2 separate regions of the Homo sapiens genome follow, and region 2 is linked to region 1. Evidence: promoter capture Hi-C in 16 types of primary human blood cells and fetal thymus (Javierre and others, 2016). All regions are on one chromosome and are shown on one strand. The core of a region is centred on a gene start or on the middle of the fragment in contact, and the rest is flanking DNA. Distances in the headings are between cores, read along the strand shown. Region 1 holds the start of KRTAP4-5 (keratin associated protein 4-5). Region 2 has its middle 13 kb from the start of KRTAP9-7.

Region 1 (5,692 bases), core at 2,216-4,715:
AGCAAACATATGGAATCAACCTAAATGTCCATCAGTGGATGACTGGATAAAGAAAATGTGCTATATATAAACAATGGAATACTCTTCAGCCATAAAACATAATGAAACCATGTCTTTTGCAGAAACATGGATGGAACCGGAGGCCATTATCTTAAGTGAAACAACTCAGACATAGAAAGACAAATACTGCATGTTCTCAGTTACAGTGGGGCCAAATGATGCGTACACATGGAGGTAGAGTGTGGAATGACAGACAATGGAGAGTCTGAAGGGCAGGGGTGTAGGAGGGGGAAGGATGATGAGAAATTACTTGATGGGTAGAATGCACGTTATTTCAGTGATGGATACTCTAAATGTCCTGACTCGACCATTATGCAATATATCCATGTAACAAAATTATACATTTACACGAATAAAATATTTTAAAAATATCTGAATTGGAAAGGAAGAAGTTACATTGTTTCTATTTGCAGATGACATGATCTTATATGTAGAAAACCCTAAAGACTTCACTGAGAAACTGTGAGAACTAATAAACAAATTCAGTAAGGTTGCAGAGTATAAAATCAACATGCAAAACCCAGTAGGTTTTCTATACACTAATAGCAAACCATCTGAAAAAGAAATCAAGAAAACTATTTCATTTACAATAGTTACAATAAAATAAAATACTTAGGAACAAGTTTAACCAAGGAAGTGAGGATATCTACACTGAAAACTGTAAAACACAGATGAAAGAAATTGATGAAAACACAAATAAATGGAATGATATCCTGTGTTTATTCCAATATTGTCCAAATATTATTAAAGCAATCTACAGATCTCACACAATCCCTATAAATATACCAATGACATTCTTCACAGAAATATTTTTAAAAAGTTCTAAAATTTGTATAGAACCACAAAAAACCAAAGTGATCTTGGACACTAAGAATATAGCTAGAAGCACCACACTCCCTGACTTCAAAATAAACCACAACACTGCAGTAACCAAAATACCATCATTCTGACATAAAAACAGACACACAGACCAATGGAATGGAATAGAGAGACCAGAAATAAAGTCACTCATTTATAACCAATTGATTTTCAACAAAGATGCCAAGAATGGGGGAAGGACAGTTTCTTCAATAAATTATGTTAGGAAAACTGGGTATCCACATGCAGAAGAATGAAATTAGTCCCTTATTTCTTACAGTATGCAAAAATCAGTTCAAATGGGTTAATGGCTTGAATGTAAGATCAGAGGCTATGAAATTTTTGGAAGAAAGCATGGGGGAAAGATTCATGACATTGGTCTCGGCAATGACTTTTTGAATATGACCTCAAAAGCACAGGCGACGAAAGAAAAATTGGATGACTGAGATTACATCAAACTAAAAAGCTTCCACACAGCAAAGGAAACCACAAAAAGAGTCAAGAGATAACCTACAGAATGGGAGAAAATATTTATAAAGTATATATCTCATAAGGGGTTAACATCCAAAATACAAAAGGAGCTCAAACAGCTCACAAGCAAGAAAACAAAAACCTGATTAAAAATGGGCAAAAGACCTGACTAGACATTTCTCAAAAGAAGACATACAAATGGCTAACAGGTTTGTGAAAAAGTACTCAACATTACTAATCATTAGGGAAATACAAATCGAAACCACATTGAGATATCACCTTATTCCTGTTAGAATGGTTATCATCAAAAAGACAAAAGATGACAAGTATTGGCAAGGATGTGAAAAAAACTCCCTCGTACACTGTTGGTGGGAATATAAATTAGTTCAGCCATTATGGAAAACAATATAAGGGTTCCTCAAAAAATTAAAACTGGAATTACCGTATTATCCAGCAATCCACTTCTGGGTACCTTATATATCTACAGGAAATGAACTTAGTATGTTGAAGAAATAACTGCATGTCCAGATTTATTGCAGCACTATTCACAATTGCCAAGATATGCACACAGTGCAAGTGTCCACCAATGAGTAAGGGGATAAAGAAAATGCAGTATATACTCAGTGCAATACTATTTGGCCGTAAAAAGACGGAAGTTCTGTCATTTGTGACAACATGGATACATCTCAAGGAAATTATGCTAAGTGAAGTAAATCAGTCATAGAAAGACAGATAGCACATGATCTCACTCACATGATCGCACTCAAAAAAGTTGATATCATAGAAGTAGAGCAGAGAATGAAGATAATCAGAGGCTAGGGGTGGCTAGGGAGTCAGGGGCTTGAGGAGATACTGGTCAAAAGACATATAATTGTAGCTAGACAGGAAGAATCAGTTCAAGAGGTCTACTGTATAGCATAGTGACTATAGTTAATGATGATATATTGTACATACTGTATTCTTGAAAAATTCTAAGAATGGATATTAAGCGTTCTCACCACAAAAAAATGATAGGTATGAGAGGTAATGCATTTATTAGCTAGATTTAATCCTTCCACAATGTATATATACTTCAAAATATTATGTTGTATGTGGTAAATACAATATTATACGTCAATCTGAAAAATAACTAATTGTTTTTAATTTCACTGAGCTTGAGTTCTTTCTATATTAAGCACATCATGCAAGACACAGTAGTGGGGGTAGATAGATTCTTAAAAGTATTATACAGGTGTTACACAGTGTTAGGGAGCCTGGGTGAAGTACAGACAGCCTCTCCTGGGACTGTTTGTTACAGCTGTATGTAAATCTACAATTATCTCAAATTTCTTTTTTAAAAAGTGAAAACACACACCTGCATTATGTTAACAGACAGTTAGAGGCATTTAAAAAAAACAATGAGTTATGGAATAAAAATGGGACTATGTCTTCCGGAATCTAATAGATTAACTGGAGAGACATGACACAAAATATAGGAGAGCAAAGTATCAATTTAAGAAACTGACCCATTAGTAACACCAAGTATAAAAATTTAAGGATATGGAATATGACCCAAAATTTGAAACATTCAGGGAAACCCATTTCAATAGTGTAGAGGTCACCAAGGCCACATGCAGGTATTGCTATCCCTTTGCTTATTGCTTAATAATGACCCACAGACTAGGAATGCCACACTGAGCAGATGGGTTTTCCTCGCTATTGGTCACTAGAGGGAATGCATAACTGGAAGTGTGACTGACCAAATCCCATTTTGGTAGAGGGTACCTGAAGCGAGAGTAAGAAATGCAATTCCAAATGCAGGGAATCACATGAACAGCCCTCTGTGGAGGAAGAGGAAGAGAACGTGGTCTAGAAGATGCTACCGAGGTGTGAATCATGAGAGAAGGCAGACATGATAGATCTTATTACATCCGGACAAGAAAATTTTGTTTTCAACAAGTTTAAACCATTAAATGGGCAAACATTATTGTGTAATCTGATAATCACTTAGTTATTAAGTAAACAAAAACAAGGAAAATGTAGTACCAACAAGACAGCTGGGCAGTATATAAGAGGCTGTGGCCCAAGGACACTTCCAAACTTGAGAACCTCATTCTTCTAGAAATCCACCCAGAACCTCCACCCTCTGACACCATGGTCAGCTCCTGTTGTGGCTCTGTCAGCTCTGAGCAGAGCTGTGGCCTGGAGAACTGCTGCCGCCCCAGCTGCTGCCAGACCACCTGCTGCAGGACCACCTGCTGCCGCCCCAGCTGCTGCAAGCCCCAGTGCTGCCAGTCTGTGTGCTACCAGCCCACCTGCTGCCACCCTAGCTGCTGCATCTCCAGCTGCTGCCGCCCCTATTGCTGTGAATCCAGCTGCTGCCGCCCCTGCTGCTGCCAGACCACCTGCTGCAGGACCACCTGCTGCAGGACCACCTGCTGCTGCCCCAGCTGCTGTGTGTCCAGCTGCTGCAGACCCCAGTGCTGCCAGTCTGTGTGCTGCCAGCCCACTTGCTGCCGTCCCAGCTGCTGCATCTCCAGCTGCTGCCACCCCTCTTGCTGTGAATCCAGCTGCTGCCGCCCCTGCTGCTGCGTGCGTCCAGTCTGTGGCCGAGTCTCCTGCCACACCACTTGCTATCGCCCAACCTGTGTCATCTCCACCTGCCCCCGCCCCTTGTGCTGTGCCTCCTCTTGCTGCTAATGTCTCCTTGTGATATTTGTCATACTATGAATGTCTTCATTAGTCATTTAAAATGCACTGTAGCCAGCCAGTCACTGGAAAAATGAACACTTCCCTGCCAGTTTGTCTCATGTGGCATTCAGAGTGGACATTCAGCTCTTCTAGGAAATGACAGACAATCACATTCATTAAAATATGTTATGCCAGGCCCCAATGCAGTTATTTTTAGATGAGCAGTGTCTTCATTCGAAGGGGACACTAACTGTGATGATCTCATATAATATTGTTTTCATGTATTAATAAACAGCCACTTCCCTAATATTGAAATCTTCTGATTTGTTAGTGATCTCATTGTGCGTGTGTGTGTGTGTGTGTGTGTGTCTTTACCTGTCAGTTCACATCAAGGGCCATCTCTCTTCAAATGCAGGAGAGCATGTTTAAGAGCCTGGGCTCTTGATTCATGTTCCCTGCATTGGAATCACGACTCCCCTAGGTATTTGTTGCGTGGCATGGGGCAAGTTTTTTAACCTCCTCAGGCCTCAGTTTTCTTTCTCTGTGAATAGAGATAATGCATTACATTCTTTAAATGTTAAGAGACATAACCCATGTAATATACTCACCACAGGGCCTGGTACATAATGCAGTATAGGCTCTTAATGGATACAGTTTCTGGCCGAGCGTGGTGGCTCACATTTGCAATCCCAGCACTTTGGGAGGCTGAGTGGGTGGAACACTTGAGGCCAGGAATTCGAGACCAGTGTGGGCAACATAGTGAAATCCCTTCTCTACTGAAAGTACAAAAATTAGTTGGGCGTGTTGGTGCACACCTGTAGTCCCAGCTACTTGGGAGGCTGAAGCAGGTGAATCACTTGAACCCAGGAGGAGGAGGTTGCAGTGAGCCGAGATCATGTCACTGCACTCCAGCCTGGGTGACAGAGCAACTCTGTCTCAATAAATAAATAAATAAATAAATAAATAAATAAATAAATAAATACAATTTCTGCTGTTACTATGATTGAAACAATACCCTGGGCTAGAATAATATCTTAGCATAATTTTCTTTTTGACAGAACAGCAAGAAAATTTGTATCATTGTTGCGCTGTCTTCTACAACTCAAAATTAAGTTTTGGTATATGCCTCAAGTGTCCCTTAAAAACTCCAGCAAGTTGAACATCATGAAGTCATCTACATTTTGTCTGACTGTATTTCTACTTCCAGTATGTTCCATTATTTGTTGTGGAAATTTTGAGTGTTTTCCCTAGCTCAAGTACTTTTTTCTTGTTTCCTTACTTCCCCCTCCCTCCCCTTCTAATCCCTTTACCTTCCCTCCACCTCCCCTCCCCTTGCCTGCCTACCTGCCTTCCTTCCTTCCTTCCTTCTTTCCTTCCTTCCTTCCTTCCTTCCTTCCTTCCTTCCTTCCTTCCTCCCTCACTCCTTCCTTCCTTCCTTCCTTTTTTCCTCTCTTAACATAAAATGATCTTTCAGAACACAGTCTACCTTCTAAGTCAAGATTTCGGGAAATTTATGACATCTGTGGCAGTTTTCTCATAAAAGTTTTACATCTTTTAATTAATAGATGCTCAAAGTCTTAGTATTTCCAGACTGAAACTCCTTTATAATTTTAGCCCCTAATGTTACTGAGGT
Region 2 (5,692 bases), core at 1,870-4,369, 140 kb before region 1:
ATAACCTTCACAGTCTTTGTGCCATACGCCACCGGGAGATCTCAGATCTTCTCTCAATCCCTGCTCTCAGCCTGAAATAAGGAGGCCAGGTTCCTTTTATAAGCCCAGATTTTCCTTGCCAGATACTGACATATTTACAGTTCATGGATCATGAATTGGATGAAGGGTGGATACAAATGCATCATACAAAAAATGCAACATCACACTGAGGAGCTTACTTCATATTAAACTTCTTTTAGTGCTTATAGCTCTCTTTATTCAGATCAAAAGGAATTAAAATCTGTCGCTCTTGTTGCAAGTTTTCTCATTTCAGTTCAGAAGGAAACATTTCAATTTTTCTTTTGTTATAAAAGTAACCTGTGCTTGAGGGGGAAAACAATGTAGGAAAAAAAATGGGAAGTCCTAGTTTCCAAACACCCCATCCACATCCCCCTCCCCAGGGACAAACTACTGGTTACTGCTTATTATGCCCTAATCTTGGTTTTCTCTTTCTCTTTACAGATGGTTGGTTACTATTCTCATTAGAAAGACTGAAGAAAAGGCTGGGCACAGTGGCTCATGCTTGTAATTCCAGCATTTTGGGAGGCTGAGGCGGGTGGATCATCTAAGGTCAGGAGTTCAAGACCAGCCTGGCCCATGTGGTGAAACCCTGTCTCTACTAAAGATGAAAGAAAGAAAGAAGGAAAGAAAGGAAGAAAGAAAGAAAGAAAGAAAAGAAAGAAAAGAAAGAAAGAAAGAAACCGGGCATGGTGGGCACCTGTAATCCCAGCTACTTGGGAGGCTGAGGCAGGAGAATTGCTTGAACCCAGGAGGTGGAGGTTGCGGTGAGCCGAGATCGCACCATTGCACTCCAGCCTGGGCAACAGGAGCGAAACTCTGTCTATTAAAAAAAAAAAAAAGACTAAAGAGAAATAAGAGGAGCGTTGATTTCTATATCGCAAGCACAGTACAAGATTATCAGTACAAAGCAATAGGCCTTTTCCTGTTTAATGGCATACTCACTTTGTTTACAACCATTTCATTAAAAAACACATTTTCACCATGTTTTCTGCTGTTTTGTTTTTGTTTTTGTTTTTGTTTTTTTCCAACCAAAAAGCATCTGGAGCTTCTTTCATTCTTCTCATGGACTCCTACCATCCCTGTTTAATGACTTGTTCACGAATCTTTCTTCCTAAGGCTAAACCTTTGAAGTTGTAGCTATGCAGTTATTTTTGATCTACAAAAATGGAAACTTCATATGGCTCAAACTCGTATTCTCTACTTGGCCTTTATTTTTTATTTTTTTAAGTAGAGATGGGGTTTCACCACGTTGGCCAGGCTGGTTTTGAACTCCTGACCTCAAGTGATCTGCCTGCCTTGCCCTCCCAAAGTGCTGGGATTACAGGCACAAGCCACCACGCCTGACCTACTTGGACTTTTTCAATCAAATCCCAGCCCATAGCTCCTTATAACTCCCTCTGGCATCTTTATAGTATACTGAAAAGTATTTTAAAAGGCCTTAGGATACTAATCACACACAGTAAAGTATTTTAAAAAGAATTAAGTCAACATAAGCCATCTTTTCTCCCAGTGTCTATTAGAATGAAATTTCCCCTGTCATTTTTCTGATTGTTTCCCTATCTATTTAATAACTAGGGTACACGTCAGACTTGTCCTGAGAAGTTCCATTCCTGAGGAAAAGCTATGCATGATTGTCTTATTTTGGAAATCTCAAATGTGGGATTCGTGTAATGGGCTTTGATAAAGGATGTTAAGGGGCAAAGTTAAGGCAGCCTTGTAAAGGTCAACTTGGAAACTAAATATCAGTAGGGAGTTATCTCAGTGGCTATAAGTTAAGACAACAGAATAAAAACTGATATTTGAGACATAAAAATGGCCCAAAAGATGGGTGTAATGAGCCCATGAGTCCCCAGTATAACATGAAACTTGCCCATCTGCGTGGTGTACGGCATTTGGTGTTACTCATGTTGGTCTCATCAGTTTGCCCACCTAAATAAATTCATCTTACAACAATAGTTCTATAACATCTAGAAGTAAGTTCCCTCCTGTAGCCCACTTCATCAGAAACTTCTTGGCAACACCTGAACCTAGCTGGAACTGGAAAAATATTTGATGGTAGTGATTTCCTGATAAATAGTCTAGAGCTGTTGCAAACAAAATCCAAGGATTGCTCTTTTTAGACACAGTCTTGCTCTGTCGCACAGTCTAGAGTGCAGTGGCTTGATGTTGGCTCACTGCAACCTCCGCCTCCTGGGTTCAAGCGATTCTCCTGCCTCAGCCTGCCGAGTAGCTGAGATTGCAGGTGCGTGTCACCACACCCCACTAATTTTTTGCATTTTTAATAGAGACGGGGTTTCACCACATTTGTCAGGCTGGTTTTGAACTCCTGACCTCAAGTGATCCACCCACCTTGGCCTCCCAAAGTGCTAGGATTACAGGTGTGAGCCACTGTGCCTGGTTAAAGGGTTGCTGTTTAAATGAACTATTTGCTTATGCTCTAAGTCAGCATGGATGGGATCCATAGATCTTTCCCGAAGTCTTAAAAATTAGTCTCTTGACTTAGTGGCATGGGAATAGATGTGAAAGAACTTTGTTTTTTTAAAAATATTAATTAATTAATTAATTTTTGAGACAAAGTCTTGCTCTTTCACCCAGGCTGGAGTGCAGTGGCGCGATCTCAGCTCACTGCAAACTCTGCCTCCCAGGTTCAAGTGATTTTCGTGCCTAAGCCTCCCGAGTAGCTGGGAATACAGGTGCACACTGCCAAGCCTGGTTAATTTTGTATTTTTAGTAGAGACGGGTTTTGCCATGTTGGCCAGGCTGGTCTCGAACTCCTGACCTCAAATGATCCTCCTGCCTTGGCCTTTCAAAGTGCTGGGATTACAGGTGTGAGCCACTGTGCCAGGCCAAAATGGGAAAAAGCTTTGTAAAATATAAAATATCCTTTAAATTTAAGAGCTTATGAAGGATATACTGCACACATAATCTAGGTCACGAAAGGATATGCAAGATGAGTATAGATTACTAGGTGATAAATTGGGAAATGCCTTAGTTGCAAAGAAGATAATTCAAATTATAAATACAATGAAGAAATGTGCAGGAAAGATATTTTAGAGGTGGCAAAATTAACCAGTTATTAAGACAATCAGCAGAGGTGGTGGACAGGGATGGTGAATCTCATGCATGTCCAATTTCTAGTGATACTCATTAGTTAAATCCAAACCCTCACTAGTGGCCATGAAGTCCAATGTTTCTTTAAAAAGGCAGTAAGGACCAATGAAGATTTTTTTCCTTGTCCATAGTTTAGTCAAGCTTCTGAACCTTCTCATAGGCCCATGGGTGCACTTCCTTGTAAAATCCAGTTTTGTAAAATTTTAGCAAAGAGCCCTGCTAAATAGGTTTAGCAAGAACTCCCCATCCTCGATATCTGATCACCCTTAATAGCGGATCAGATCTCTTATCTGCCACCATTCTCCAAGTGATGTTTGATCACCCTCGCCTGTCTTCAGCAAGAGCACTTTTAGGTCAGTTTAGCCAAAATTTCCCTACTGGTGATGCTTCCTCTTAGTAATTTTCCATCCACTGACCGCCACCCTGCTCCTTGGCTGTAAATTCTCACTTGCCCATGCTATGTTAGGAGATGAGTCCAATCTCTGTCTCCCAATGCAAGACCCTGTTATGGTGGTTCCTTTGTTTACTGCAGTGTTCCTGAATAAAGTCTCCCTTACCAGGCTTTCACAAGTGCCATTGAATAATTTTTTTTTTAACAAGACTATGATGAATTTTTAAAAGCCAAATCCCTATTGTTTCCCTGATAACATATTATTTCACCAGAAAAATAAATATAAGAAATTCATTTTAAATGTATCTCAAACCATCAGAAAAGGGCTTAACCTTATTGAACTGAGCTACTAGGAAAGAGGAGGAAAGAAGAAGAGTGGAAACCATCGGTCATTCAGTGCAAGCATGTCCGGCTGTCACCAATAAGCTAGCTGTACCTGTCTTAGGACAGAGCTGTATGAAGGAAGTTAATATTTACCAGTTAAAAGAAAAACGAAAGAGGAAAACAGTGATTCAGCACTAAACAGAATTAAGAGTCAGTCATTTGAAATATAGAAAGCCCTAGAAATACCATTACAAACAACAATAATAACAATAAGCCCCCTATTGTATAATAACAAATTGTGCAATAGGTAAAAGATAGATTGTTTAAAGTCTTCTTGGATGTTGTAAGTTATTTTCAGGGCCAAAAAGGAAAAAACTGCTCTTGCAATTCAAGTTCGGGTATATATTTTGCAAATGCTGGCATGCTCAATGCTTCCTGAAGGAGAGGGAGCTATCCTTATTTTGATCAGTTCAGATTGAATGAAAATTTTCTCTGATGCTAATATAGATCCAGTCTCCCAAATTTTAGGTTCCCCACGATTCTTCAAACATCACCAATAAGAGTTCAATGTTCTTGGCTGGGTGTGGTGGCTCACACCTGTAATCCCAGCACTTTGGGAGGCCAGTGTGGGCCTCCCAAAGATCATGAGGTCAAGAGATCGAGACCATCCTGGCCAACATGGTGAAACATGGGCATGGTGGCGGGCACCTGTAATCCCAGCTACTCAGGAGGCTGAAGCAGGAGAATTGCTTGAACCTTGGAGGTGGAGGTTGCAGTGAGCCGAGATCGCACCACTGCACTCCAGCCTGGTGACAGAGCGAGACTTATCTCAAAAAAAAAAAAAAAAAAAAAAAAAAAAAAGAGCTCAGTGTTCAATGTTCTCACTTGGAAGATGTCTCAGTATCTGAGAAGTAGTTTGTCCACGGTCAGGAAACTAGAACTCATTTAAAGAAACTAAATTCTCTCCTATGCTGTTTACATCCATTTGGGGCCACTATTCCCCTTTCCAGCTGTCCTTCTACACAATTCTGTTCAAATATTATTCTTTGAATATATAAGTAATATTAAGAAGTCCTCCTTTCTTATGTCTTAATCATAATTTTACCAGTAGATCTTAAATGAAATCCCTTATATTCTTATCATCACCTATTTGTGTAGGTACAGTTCTTTCATAGTGGACTTAATGTTGGTCTTAGTGAGTGGTTTGTTTTATATATTAAGTATACTTATGCTTTGCTATATTTATTACTATTGGGCACTTAAAGGGGAATGCTTGGAAAAAACTGGGTTGATTTTGCTAGGAATCAACCTTAAAGGGCAGAAGATTATTGAAATTTGACCCTTTCCATCTTAATCTTTGTTCCAAGCAGGAATCTGACTGGGGCTGAAGAGCTTGGTTTTTACCTTGTCCTTATCTTGCATAAGGAATGCTTTTGTTTAGAAAGAGGATCTGAAGGTTTTCTGGTCTGGGACAGGCCACAGCCACTGTGGAACGCAGTGATAATAAAGGATGGATAAGGCTTGCATGCTTTCCTTAGCGAGTTTATACAATCTATCCAATTTAGGCTTTCTTGATTTATATTCTAGAATAATGTCTATATTTGTTTATTTAAGTGGGAATCATTTTAATTTTATTTCTGATTTTTAATCCTATATTTTCTGCATTAGTTATCTCCAAACCTACAATTTAATTAAATTTATCCCAGCGTTTGATCTTAGAATATAACATTCATTCTTGTTTCCTGCATATTCACAAGAAAAATCCCAAGCTGTGTTATCTGAACCATCTGTCAGAAGAGGTTCCAA

What was found. The method cuts DNA at HindIII sites, captures the fragments that hold promoters and counts their contacts. A CHiCAGO score of 5 or more calls a contact.
Region 2: a contact is called between a fragment that was not itself captured here and the fragment with the promoter of KRTAP4-5 in region 1, in 4 of 17 cell types (total CD4 T cells, naive CD8 T cells, non-activated CD4 T cells and 1 more). The highest score is 5.8, in total CD4 T cells.

The regions. Positions count from the first base shown.
Region 1 is chr17:41,147,598-41,153,289 of GRCh38, reverse strand. It overlaps KRTAP4-5 (keratin associated protein 4-5), which reads left to right and starts at 3,465. Exons shown (of 1, transcript NM_033188.4): 1 at 3,465-4,366. The coding sequence starts at 3,523. The coding sequence ends at 4,068. The HindIII fragment of the contact is 5,677 bases long and covers 1,387-5,692 here.
Region 2 is chr17:41,285,603-41,291,294 of GRCh38, reverse strand. No RefSeq gene overlaps it. Among named protein-coding and RNA genes, the nearest start is that of KRTAP9-7, 13 kb to the right of the region's middle. The HindIII fragment of the contact is 390 bases long and covers 2,925-3,314 here.